3 separate regions of the Homo sapiens genome follow, and regions 2 and 3 are each linked to region 1. The links are contacts of gene promoters, found by promoter capture Hi-C in blood cells and fetal thymus (Javierre and others, 2016). All regions are on one chromosome and are shown on one strand. Each heading gives the region's core, a stretch centred on a gene start or on the middle of the fragment in contact. The rest is flanking DNA. Distances are from core to core; before and after follow the strand shown.

Evidence for each region. Contacts are between HindIII fragments. The CHiCAGO score rates a contact against its expected background, and 5 or more counts as called.
Region 2: a fragment that was not itself captured here is called in contact with the fragment with the promoter of SLC38A5 in region 1 in 1 of 17 cell types (neutrophils); the score reaches 5.9 in neutrophils.
Region 3: a contact is called between a fragment that was not itself captured here and the fragment with the promoter of SLC38A5 in region 1, in 1 of 17 cell types (monocytes). The highest score is 5.6, in monocytes.

What each region holds. Positions count from the first base shown.
Region 1 is chrX:48,469,010-48,472,747 of GRCh38, reverse strand. SLC38A5 (solute carrier family 38 member 5) reads left to right here and starts at 2,488. Exons shown (of 17, transcript NM_033518.4): 1 at 2,488-2,566; 2 at 3,312-3,413. The HindIII fragment of the contact is 10,592 bases long and covers 1-3,738 here.
Region 2 is chrX:52,274,395-52,278,702 of GRCh38, reverse strand. No RefSeq gene overlaps it. Among named protein-coding and RNA genes, the nearest start is that of MIR8088, 60 kb to the left of the region's middle. The HindIII fragment of the contact is 1,699 bases long and covers 2,165-3,863 here.
Region 3 is chrX:52,996,872-53,001,379 of GRCh38, reverse strand. No RefSeq gene overlaps it. Among named protein-coding and RNA genes, the nearest start is that of FAM156A, 41 kb to the right of the region's middle. The HindIII fragment of the contact is 8,235 bases long and covers 1-4,508 here.

The sequences.
Region 1 (3,738 bases), core at 1,239-3,738:
GCCCTGGGAGGGAAGGGGAGCAATCAGAGCAGGAGGCTGTGGCAGGGAGGCGGCGAATGGATGCAGAGGGGAGGGGGGTTGTCTTTTTTTTTTTTTTTTAAATCCAAATAAAGTATGCTAGTTATTTGGACGGGACACTTCAGACTTGAAATATGGATACCTGCATCCCCCCCACCCCCCGACCTTTAGCCATCTGGGTCAAAGCCTCTAGTGACAGGTGTCTCTTTCCCTGGCCAGCTGGTAGCACAGATGTGTAATGGCTCTGGGTGGGGGAGGGGTATGAGGGGAGAGAGAAATCAGAGTAGATAGGAAAGGAGACAGAGGCTGGAGGAGGTTGGGCAGGAGTGTGTGCGCACGTGTGTGTGAATATGCTGAGTGTATCTCACCTGCCCGTTCTCAGCCACAGCCACACGTATGTGAGCTGTGCCTGCGTCTTCCTATGTAACTTGCCTGGTGCTGCGTTCTGTCTATGGCCGCCTGCCAAACTTGTGCTTTTTTTTTTTTTTTTTTTTGAGATGGAGTCTCACTCTGTCGCTTGGGCCGGAGTGCAGTGGCGCGATCTTGGCTCACTGCAACCTCCGCCTTCCAGGTTCAAGCAATTCTCTTGCCTCAGCCTCCCGAGTAGCTGGGATTACAGGAACCCGCCACCACGCCCAGCTAATTTTTTTTGTATTTTTAGTAGAGACGGGGTTTCGCCACGTTGGCCAGGCTGGTCTCGAACTACTGACCTCATGATTCACTCACCTTGGCCTCCCAAAGTGCTGGGATTACAGGCATGAACCACTGCACCCGGCCCAACTCATACCTTTTTTTTTTTTTTTTTTTTGGCAACCGTGTGCATTGGTACTGTCTGTCGGTGCAGTTCATCTATATGTTGTTGTGTGTGTGTGTTGCTTGGGTGTTTGTCTCCTTTGTAATGGTCGTGGGTGACAAGTGTGTCAGAGTACTTGTCCCTCCTATATGTGTATCTATGCGCACGTATCTTTCTTTGTGTGTCTGCTGCTGTATTTGTGTCTCTTCTTAGCGAGTGGCTGCAGGTATGTGTGCCCTCGGGGTGTTTCTTCTGGTGCCATGGTATGAGTACTATCTGGTTCTCTTGTTTTTTCCTTGTGTAGCTTTCAGTGTGGTTTCTGGATTTTTTCTTTGCAACGATAGTAAGCGTACTCTGCATTCCTGTGCTTTGTGTTTGTGTGCAGGTATATGCTTTCCCTATATGTTTCTTTTCTGACTTGATTTGTGACTAGCTGTGTGTGTACACGGCTGTGTGCAGCCATTTGCTGAAATGCAGTTGTGTGTGTGTGTGTGTGTGAGAGAGAGAGAGAGAGGAGAGAGAGAGAGAAGGAGACTATGGCTTTTCTGTTTGTACAAAAATCATGTCAGCCTATGAGTGCCTCTCTCTGTGACTGGAGCTGTATGTGGTTACATGTGGTCACAAGTGCACATTCAAGTTCACATACACAGAGATATCATTTTAGGGCTTGAACCTGGAAGTTTGCCTCCAGGGTCATCTGAACCTGGATTCAGGTTCAGATCCAGGGCCATCTGAACCTGGATCGTGTGTGTGGGAAAGACCCAGGACCCACACACAATGTCATCAGCTGTGTGTAATTGTGTGCTCTGTGTGTGGCTGTGAATCTGTGTGTGTGATTTGCCTGTTGATTGTCTTTGGCATGGCTGTGGGTCCACGGGCGGTGAGGTTCAGGAGTCTCGAGTGTCTGGAAATCGGCACAAGCCTATCCCTGTGTTAGTCTGTGCTCTCTGTGAGCGGCTCTGAGCCTGTCGGTATTGATAGCTGTAAGACTATCGTCACTCTGTGTGGCCACGTGTGTGACTGTCCCATGAGCCATTGCTCTTAACGTGCAGTGGTGAGTCTGTGTGTGTTCATGTCTGTCAGTCTTTATTCTCTTGTGTGGCTGTGAGTCTTTGTGCACCTCTGTGAGTGATGGCGAGTTGGCCCCCGTATCTGAGCCCCTTGATGGGGCTGTGATGGGTCCTGTTGTGTAGCTGCGATTCCTGAGTGTGCAGGAGTCTCTCTCCCGCTGTGGGGAAGTAAACGCCCCATCCCTTGTCCTCCTCCAACTGTGGGTGGGGTGAGGGCATCTAGGCCAGCTTTGAAGCCCCAGCCAGCTCCTGGCCTTTCCGGGAATTCTGTGTTCCCTGTCGGGGGTGGGCAGGCGGGCGAGGGGCCCAGACAGAGGCCTCTTGTCCACCTGGGCTTCAAGCAGCCCAGTCGAGGTGGTCCCAGACCCCAAGTCCACCCTGCCTGACATCCTGTAGCGGACACGTGGCTTGCCTGGGACAGGCATGCCTGTCATATGCCTGGAGGGGAGTGAACAGACGGACTCCCATAGAAGACAGACGGACAGACAGATAGTGGGACTTCTCAGGGCTTGGACAAGCCCCACCCCACGCTTGGGGTGGGGTCCAGGACTACAGTGCCCGCCCAGTTTGCGGACAGTGTGAGTTCACAGTCCACATTCCCCACCCAGCCACAAATGCCCTCCCTGCCTCCCTCTGGGGGCCCCCAAGATCTAGGGTCCTCTCGTGCCTAGGCTGTCTGCCTGAGGTCTGCCTGGAATAGCCTGGCTACTACCCCTGCACCTGTTCCCCTGCTGTCCCCAGGCCTCTCTGCCTGAATCTGCCTCTCTCTGCCTCTTTTCTCCTGTCCCTCCAGGAGTCTCTCTGCCTCAACCACTCTCTCTGCCCCTTCATCTCTCTGAGCTGGTGTGTCTGGTCCTACCCTCTGTTTGGGGAGCTGTCTGGCTCTGTCCCCCACCTCTTGGCCAGCCTGTGTCTCCTGTCTATGACTGAGCCCAATTGCCTGTTGCCTTTCTGCAGGTGTTTCCACGAGCCTATCCCTACCCACCTGTTTGTTTCTGAGTCTGCCTGTGTGTCCCTTTCTCCCTGTCTCTGCCTGTCTTCCAAGCTCCCCTAGCATCCCCTCCTCCCGCCCATCTGTCTTTCTGTCCCTTCTGTGGTCTGTCTGTTCCTGTGCTGTTTCTCATGCCTGCTTTCTTTGTAACTTCAGTTCTCCTACTCTCTCTCTGTCTCCTCTCTGCACCTTTTTCTGCCATCCATCCCATCCTGCTGTCCGTCTGCTCTGTGAGTCCATCCCCTCTGTCTGCCTGTCACTCTCTCTAGCTGTGGGTCTACACCCTCAATCTTTCAGGCCATTTCCCCCACCATCAACACACAAACAAACCGCTGTCTCCCTCCAAGTGGGTCCAGATAGGGGGCGCCCCTTCTCCACCTCTTCCCCCGCCCAGGGCCAGAAGGAGGGAAACGAAATTAAAATTAACATTTCTTCTCAGGAAAAAAAAAAAAGTACCGCTCCAGAGCAGGAGCCTAGGCAGCCGAGAGGGTGCCCGAACCTGAGTCTGAGTTGCGGCCACTTCAGGAGCTGAGAGGAGCAGGTAGGTGAGGAGGGAGCGTGGGCTGCGGGGATGGTGTTCCTGGGGGCCTGAGATATGAGTAGGGGTCCTGGGAGGGGGCTCGGGGTTCCTTGGAGACATTTTAGCACTAGTGGGGAATGGAATGGCGTGTATGGGGAGGTCCTTTTTGTACCCTGATCCCAGGAAGTGAATTCAGGTGTGGGTGGGAGGCTCCGGAGGGTGCTGGTGGTGGGGGATGGGACTCCTTGAGACCCTCCCTGTCCCAGGAACGGGATTCAGGACTTGGGAAAAGGATTTCCTGAGCCAGTTTGAGCTCTAATGGGGACCTTGAATGGGGGTTTCTGAG
Region 2 (4,308 bases), core at 1,765-4,264, 3.8 Mb before region 1:
CAGCACTCAGACCCCAGAAATAAACAATCCTGAAGGAAGCAGGTAAATCTCTCCCCACACAACATGCAGAACTGAGTGCAGCTGTCCTACCAGTCAGACACTATCAGAAAATTGAAAGAAAATTTATATTTTTACAGACTCATGGGCAGTTGCAAATGGCATAGTCCTATAGTCACATAAATGAAAACAAAATAATTTTACAATTAATGGTAAAGACATACAGTCCACATCTTACTGGAAGGAACTATATGAATTATCAAACTGAATTTAGATATTTGTGATGCATGAATCAGCACACCAAAAAGACAATTCAGAGACCACAAAATTTAATAACCAAGTAGATGCATTAACAGGGAATATAAACATTGACACTCAAAACATACCCAAATTAAAACTACACAGAAATCCAGACAACCCATGGAGACATTCATTACCACTTCTACAACTCAGGAGATAATCAGACAATGAATGTGAGATAGTACAAGTACCCCCCAATAACTATAATGAAACAGGGGTATGACTTGAAAATTAAACAGACAGCTGAGTGTGGTGGCTCAAGCCTATAATCCCAGCATTTTGTGAGGACGAGGCAGGTGGATCACGAGGTCAGGAGTTCGAGATCAGCTTGACCAACATGGTGAAACCCTGTCTCTACTAAGAACACACAAAAAAATTAGCCAGGCGTGGTGGCACTTGCCTGTAATCCTAGCTACTCAGGAGGCTGAGACGAGAATCGCTTGAACCCGGGAGGCAGAGGTTGCAGTGAGCTGAGATCGTGCCACTGCACGCCAGCCTGGGCAACAGACCGAGACTCCACCTGAAAAAAAAAAATTAAACAGACACCAGAAGCAGCTTACATTCCACAAATGCTCCTACAATTACGTAAGCAGAAAGGACATTTAGGCACACACTCACTGTACAAGTGGCTGTCAGAAATCAAAAGGTGACATGACATCAAATTAAAAAGGCTACAGGTAATTGTGAATAATGTAAAACTAATCTGGACAAATATAAATATACTAAACCAATATACATACAAATCTGACATCTTTAATTTCTGCTTACAGGTAAATTTTATAGAACCATTAAATCGCTCCTACTAACAAAAATATGCAGTTACAATGGTGGATATATATAAAGGGATTGGCATAGCAACAGCAGCTAGCCACTCATTTGCCAAATATAATATCTCAGCCTTAGAAATTTGGGCGGCTCACTATGGAGCCCCCAAAATGATTGAAAGTGATCAAGCAACTCATTTTACATCAAGGACCACACAAGCATTGGTGGACCAATGGGATATATAATTAAATTTTTACCTACCTTGCAATCTTACAGCAGTGGGATATATAGAAAGATTTAATGGCTAATAAAAAGAGAATGGAAAGCCTTAGACCAAATGAGTACATTTCAACAAGCTCTTAACCTGGCATGTTTCAACTTAAATCAAAGAGAAAGACTATAAGAGCAGCCTCCATTCTTATCTTAATCACCCAAACTTAACTGTCACAAAAGATAAGGAAGAATATGATACAAATATTATACCTTACAAGGTGAGCACTAGACTAAATAACAACACTATCTCCCAACAGGACACTGTGGCCCATGGACACGGAAACACATGTTAGACTACAGGAAACAGGAGAGTTAGAATTAGACAAAATCTCCAATCTCTCTTTACAATGCTTTATTCTAGTCATTGCATTAATATTATCCACGAGAATAAGTGAAGGTGTACTTCAATCCAATTTTGCTTACCACTAATCTAATATTTTTAACTTCAACATCACTCCTAGCTATCACTGGAATAATTAAATACTTTACTCACTTAGGACATCAAGATGGCTACAAATTTGTGTAGCTTCTCAACTGGTCTTATCAACTTTCTCATTCACCTCATATTAGCCATCATAGTAACTTTACTGCCTTGTTATTACTTATATTGCCACCAGGGAGACTGTAACCAGATAAATCAAACTAACACAAGCACACACACCCCTCACAGCAGAAAAATTACAAATTTCACTATCTGCTTGTTAAGTATATTATTTGATTAATAATTTGCAGACTGACAGCTATAATGCATCCCCAGCATATGGACTTAGCCTCTCCAGGATCTCCATCATCCATGTATATCCCGCCTTGCCCTCCTTCCTTTTAAGCTTCAGCCTCATGTTCGCCACCTATAGCTTTCAGAGCCCCTTCACCAGATTTCCTTCAGGAATTAGCTCAAGCAGACTGGCCCATACAGGCAGGCATGGACTGGAATTTCAGACCAGACTTTGTAGAATCTAGGCGCCACTGCCACCTTCCTGCTCCTTACGTTTATGAACTAACTGCAGCATTAGGAGCTATTGAAGGTTTAGTTGAAAGTGTACACCCCAATGACTGCATAAGTCTTGCTTGGCTACTAACCTATTATATAAGTTGCATTGCTAAACTGCTTAATAAGAGAGGACAGACCCCATAGAACTACCTTACTTTGTTCTACCCCAACCTAACCCAGCAGCAATACTACTACTGGAAGCAATCTTTGACTATACTACTTAGAGAAATATTAGGATGACATAGATTATTATATCTTAGTTTGTTTTCAGTGCTATATTTAATGCCTATACATCTGATAATTAATAGCAAACATAAGATTGATGCAAATAGCTTAAAATATGTTAGGAGATATAGAAGGGAAATAACAGATACTACTACTACTACTACTACTACTACTACTACTACTACTACTACTGCTACTACTGTTTATTCCTAAAGTAACCATTAAAATTTCTGAGCCTCAAACACATACATATCCAACAGTGCCAACTCATACAGCACCTAAAATCACACGATTACCAGAACAAATTCCGCAATATATACTTCATGAAAATATATCATTTTTGAACAATTGTTAGAAAGTCAAGGGACTGATAAAAGAATACTTAGAGCTTCAATTAGACTATTTTGTTCATATTCATTTGACCCAAAGCAATGCCTGAAGAGCTTTTAGCTTTTACACACACTTCCAATCATTGTATCTTTATAGAATCTTTGCGCATATTCCTAAACATACTTTAGAAGAATGCATAAATGACATGACTAAATGTGACACCCCAACTTATGCAGCTACAATGAAGCATTCAATAACATCTCAAACCATGGATGGCTCACATAATAGGTAGAGAAATGCTAATAGAAACAGACATGCCAATCAAAACAGTTCATTACATAAGAAGCGCTATATCATACCAATCCCCAATCATAGTACCACAGATAGAACCATATGTTGGAAGATCTCACATGACATGCTTGGATATGATACGACACTCCTACAAGTCATTTGTTAATAGTTGGTATGAATTCTGGTACCAATCTGGACTTGAAGGAAATGAACATTATGATTATGAAGTAGATTCAAGGGATGACACAAGACTAAATATAGCTACAAAACCAACCACTTCATCTTACACCCATATATCAGACCCCCACAGGAAAAAGTGTCAATGCCACTAGGATATCCATTAGATTATGATATAATAACAACAGAAGAGGATAAGACATACTATAACTATCATCTAATTAACTTTCCTAACTTGCTGTTTTTTGGAAATTTTGCCTTCACCCACCCTGTTCATCTTATGATTATTACGCAAAAAGCCAAAATTATTTGACAGTCTCACAATTCTTCTTTTTTCTTTTTATTAGACAAAAGAGAGCTGGAGTAACAATTCTTTAATAAGGCTAAAAAATTCTCACTGGCAGAATTATATTGAAAACATAGATGACACCCAGTAATCTTAACTAATGCTGACTATCACTTTACACACACTACCTTTGAAACACACACTAAAACAATGTATGTAGATAAAGCTTGTCTTGAATACAAGTATACTTATACTTGCCCTCCACAAATAAGGAACTTATAAAGATAAAAAATAGAATCAACACTACCCAACAAGATATACATTTTGAGGGACAACCAACATTAATATGCTTTAACCTTAACTTTACATATATTAAAGCTACATTTCATTATCCCACGGATGAAAACCTTATCCTTGCCCATTCTACACTATAAGTTGCTTACTAACATGGTTACACGTTCCAAGATCAACAGGCTTTACAAAACAAAACAAACCAACAGACACAGCACAATTCAGACTTTGGCATAATAAAACACATGCTAAATTTACAACATTAAATGGCAAACTTGGCTACAATATATCAAAACTACCTTTACACAATAAGCAAAGAGTTTATAGAGAATGTAGACAGATATGTTATCATAACTGGAAAGTCCACTCTATGGTGGAATGT
Region 3 (4,508 bases), core at 461-2,960, 4.5 Mb before region 1:
CACTTGACCTGGGAGGTGGAGGTTGCAGTGAGCCGAGTTCGGCCACTGCACTGCAGCCTGGGCAACAGAGCGAGACTCCATCTCAAAAGCAAAAACAGAAAGAAAGAAGAAGAAGAAAAAAAAGAAATGAAAGTCTTGGGCCCCTCCCCAGACCCACTGAATCAGAAACTCTGAAAGGTGAGGCCCAGCAATCTGTGTTTTAACAAGCTCTCTAGGTGATTCTTGATGCACACTAAAGTTTGAGAACCATTAGAGTAATCCACAGGACCTAAGTATGAAATAGCTGGCCCCTCTTGGATCTCACCTCCTGTGAGTGTGCAGCTGGGGATGAGGCGTGGAGGATGTAACATACCATTGCGGGTACCGGAAATGAACACACCATTATGCGAGATACCATAGGGGAAGGGAGCTTCTATTTTGTAAGAATACAAATGCTGTGTGTGGAGGGACAATAAAGCCCACCCCCGCCCACCAACGAAATCAGCCCCACCTTTCGACAGTAGGGCGGGCGCGGCGGCGAGCGCCCCAGGCGGCAATCCGTCCTCCTGGTTTCCACCCAGGCCCAAGCTGACACCCATTCTCCGACTTCTCGGAGACCCCTCTAGTCCCATTTTTGGCCACGCCCGTCTCCGTTCTACAGATCTGAATAAATTAGGAACCTGCAAAGGGGCAGTCGATCGGTTGTGGGACGATCAAGGCAGGAAGGCATCAAGGACCGCTCTGGGAAGCTCACCTAGAGAGTGCGGCTCTTACAGAGTACAGCGGGATGCACTCGTAGAGCCGGGTCCCTGGGTCTTCGCGCTCGCGCACGGTCAGGCACAGTGGCTGATGGGCGGAAGTTCGTAAAGCGGAGCCTGGGCTTTAAGGACTGGATGACCAGTGGGATCCAGTCTTCAAGACTTGGACTGTTGTTCAGTATGAGGCTAAAGATGCTTCCCAAGTCACAGGCAGGGCTTAAGTGAGACCACTCGCAAGGGGTCATCTGGCGCTCAGTGCGCAGGGCTCTAAGTTTTAGGTCATCACAGATCTGACTTGCAGTGTCCCAAGCACTTCTTTCTTATGTGCCATCTCATTTAATCCCCACTAGCACCTTTGGAAGAAAGCCCTGTCACCTCTGTCGCTGATGAGGACACTGGAGCGCCAAGAAGGCAGATCCCTGGCTGGGGCCCTCCAACCAGGGTGGGGCAGAGCTGGGGCCAGATGACAATTCCCGGAGGACCGCAGTTGGGACACTCCCAGCGCTCATGCTGCCCCTGTCCCTCCCAGGGTCCCTTCTCTGTCCTCACAGACCCAGCTGGGCAGTGTCCTCCCATCTCCTGAGGTGACACTCACCCCAGCGCCTCCTTCAGGAATCCCACCCCGCCCCCTCCAGCCCTAGGCGAATTGCCCTGGACTCTCAGTCTGGGTCTGGAGTTTCATCTGGATCTGGGAGACATTTCCAGTTCTGCCCTAACAGGGATGTTGTGACAGAAACCTGTGTGGGGGCAGGAGAGATATCTGTCCTGCAAAATGGTCTGCACTTTCAGGAAGTGCAGGGAGGGTCCTGAGGGGGTCCTCTGAGGTAGGCCTAGGTGCCGGGTGAGAGGACCGAAGTGGGCGTGAGAGGGTATAACTGAGGCCCCATGACTAGGGCTGGGGTAGGGAGGTAGAGGTCCGTGGTGGAAGGGGAGCCCTGGTGGCTCACAAGGGTGGGGAGCTGGGGAGAGAGAGGAGGTGTGGCAGCTGCCAATTGGAGAGGAAGTTTGGGAGAAAGGACCAGAATGCTCAGAAGGGCCATAATGGGGGTTGCCATTGGCAGTGTGAAGGGAGGACCTCTACTCTCTCTCCAAGATCCAGTTCCCCACAGTGGGTGCTGAGAGATGGCAAAGATAACGGGGTCTAGGGGTCTCCTACTGTGTTCTGGGATTTACCCTGAAGCCCCCATGGGGCAAGATACAAAAGTCACCAGGACCAAAGGTGATCAGGGTTGGTCAGACGATGGCCATTCCTGGGAGCCAGATATGAGAGCTTACTCTCTGATCCCCTCAGTCCCAGAGGGTCCTTCCCCATCCCTGGTGTGAACCTGCCTTCCTCATGACAACAACGGTGGTGACTGCAGACTGTGGGGAACTACAAGATCCAAGGCCTCCCCATAACAGTGTTGGATGGCACAGAGATTCAGCATCACACAGCAGCCCTGAGCTGATTCTTTGTGGGTATGTGTACCAGGGTGTAGCTGGTAAGCTCTTTGTGGGTTGGTGTGTGAGGTCCTTGAGTTATTGTGAGCTGTTACCTTGAGGTAGGAATTCTCTGAGCTGGTTGGGGGTCTGTGTCCTGAGGTGTGGCATCTTTGAGCTGTTTGGTGGTTGGTGTCTAGGGTGAGAGGTCTCTGAACTGCTTGTGGGCACTGTCCTAAGGCATGAGATCTTTGAACATTTTTGTGGGAGGTCTTTGTCCAGAAGGTTAGGTCTCCGAGCTGCTCATATATCAGGATATTTTTGTGAGGAAGGCAGGATGGTCCTTTCTCTCACAGGGGTAGAACAAGGTGCCCTGGTATCAGAGAGATGAAAACATAGGATCCTTATCCTTAGGGAGGGCAAGTCCTCAGTGTAGCATGTAGGAGCCAGTGGTACAAATACTAATGACAATGTCTGCAGACATTAACCCCATCCTTGCTCAGGGCCGACCCCTGTGACAAACCCATGTAACCCATGTTAACTCAATCTGCCAAATTGCCAATGAGGAGCTCACCATTTGCAGATGAGGAGGCTGAAGCCAAGTGAGGGTAGGGCCTGTGCTCACACAGTCCTCATGAAGAGGGAGGAACTGGCTGTAACTTGGACTCACTGGAGGAGACAGGGAAAGGCTCAGGCACAGCCGGGGTCAATGGGAGATGACAAGGAAAGGGGAAAGGAAGAGGTTTGCCCAGGGCCTCAAGGGCCCCATCACTGACTCACTGGTGGGAGGTCTGCCTCTCTGTCTCTCTGTCGCACACCCTGCTTGGTAATGGATGTTGAGAATGCAATCCTCACGTTACCTGTGGAAGTGGTGGCATGAGGTAAAGAGTGGGGAAATACCACAGATTCATCCATTGGCATGAGGTCCACCAGCAAATGTAGAGATTCCTACCTCTTCTTCCCCCTTGAAAGAATTTTTTTCAGGCCAGGCATGGTGGCTCACGCCTGTAATCCCAGCACTTTTGGGAGGCCGAGGCAGGCAGATGGCTTGAGCCCAGGAGTTCAAAACCAGCTTGGGCAACATGGCAAAACCCTGTCTTTACAAAACATATAAAAAAAAATCAGGCCGGGCATGGTGGCTCATGCCTGTAATCCCAGCACTTTGAGAGGCCAAGGCAGGTGGATCACTTGAGGCTAGGAGTTTGAGACCAGCCTGTCCAACCTGGCGAAACCCTGTCTCTACTAAAAATACAAAAATTAGCCGGGCATGGTGGTGCATGCCTGTAATCCCAGCTACTCGGGAGGCTGAGGCATGAGAATCGCTTGAGCCCAGGAGGTGGAGGTTGCAGTGAGCCGAGATCACACCACTGCACTCAGCCTCGGTGACAGAGGGAAACTCTGTCTCAAAGAAACCAAAACCAAAACAAAAAAATCAGCTGGGCATGGTGGCGTGCACCTATAGTCCCAGCTACTTGGGAGGCTGAGGTAGGAGGATTGCTTGAGCCCAGGAGGTTGAGGCTGCGGTGAGCCGTGATTGTGCCACTGCACTACAGCCTGGGTGACAGAGCAAGACTCTGTCTCAAAAAAAAAAAAAAAAAAAAAGAATTTTTTCAGCACTGAGAGTCAGCAGGACGGCAGTCAAGGGCTGGAGGGGGTATGGGGGATTCTGTATACAGCATGAGCCTCCCCATAACTGGAACGTGTCCTTATCCTGATGGGTAGAGGGTCCCAATGTGTGTCAAGGAAGTGGGGCGGGTCTTCCCTCATGACTGAGGCCCAGGCCAAGGGCAGGTGAGTCAGTCCCTAGACACAGTTTCTGGGGAGAGGCTTCCTTTCCTCTGCAGACACAGGCACAGCACCTAGTAGCATGCATAGGGGTCCGGAGCTGTGGATCTAATTCAGCAGGGACAGCCAGCTGCCAGAAGTAGTCTCTCTGCCCTTGTCTCTCTATTACTCTCTTTCTTTCCCTCTATCTTCTCTGTGTCTGTTACTTTCTCTCTCAGACATGGGGCTAGGTGTGACCTCACTCATGCTATCAGGGCCCTTGATCAGCTTCTTCTAAGGGTATCATCCTCTGACATGGATTTTTCTGGGGAGCAGTTGGGAGGATACCTTCTGAGTCTAAGGGATTGTCCAGGAAAGGCATATTTGGCTGCAGAGGGGCTGGAGGAGTCCCTCGGCAAAACCAGGAGCTCTTCCCTATACTTTGAGTGACCTGGGCCTCTGGCCTCTGAAAGAAGCATAGGAGCTTCTCTGCTAAAAACTTTCCCATGGCTCGCTCAGAGTAAGTCAAAGTCCTTGCCATGGCCCAGAAGGTCCTGTATAATCTGGTCCTCATTACCTTTCTGAGCT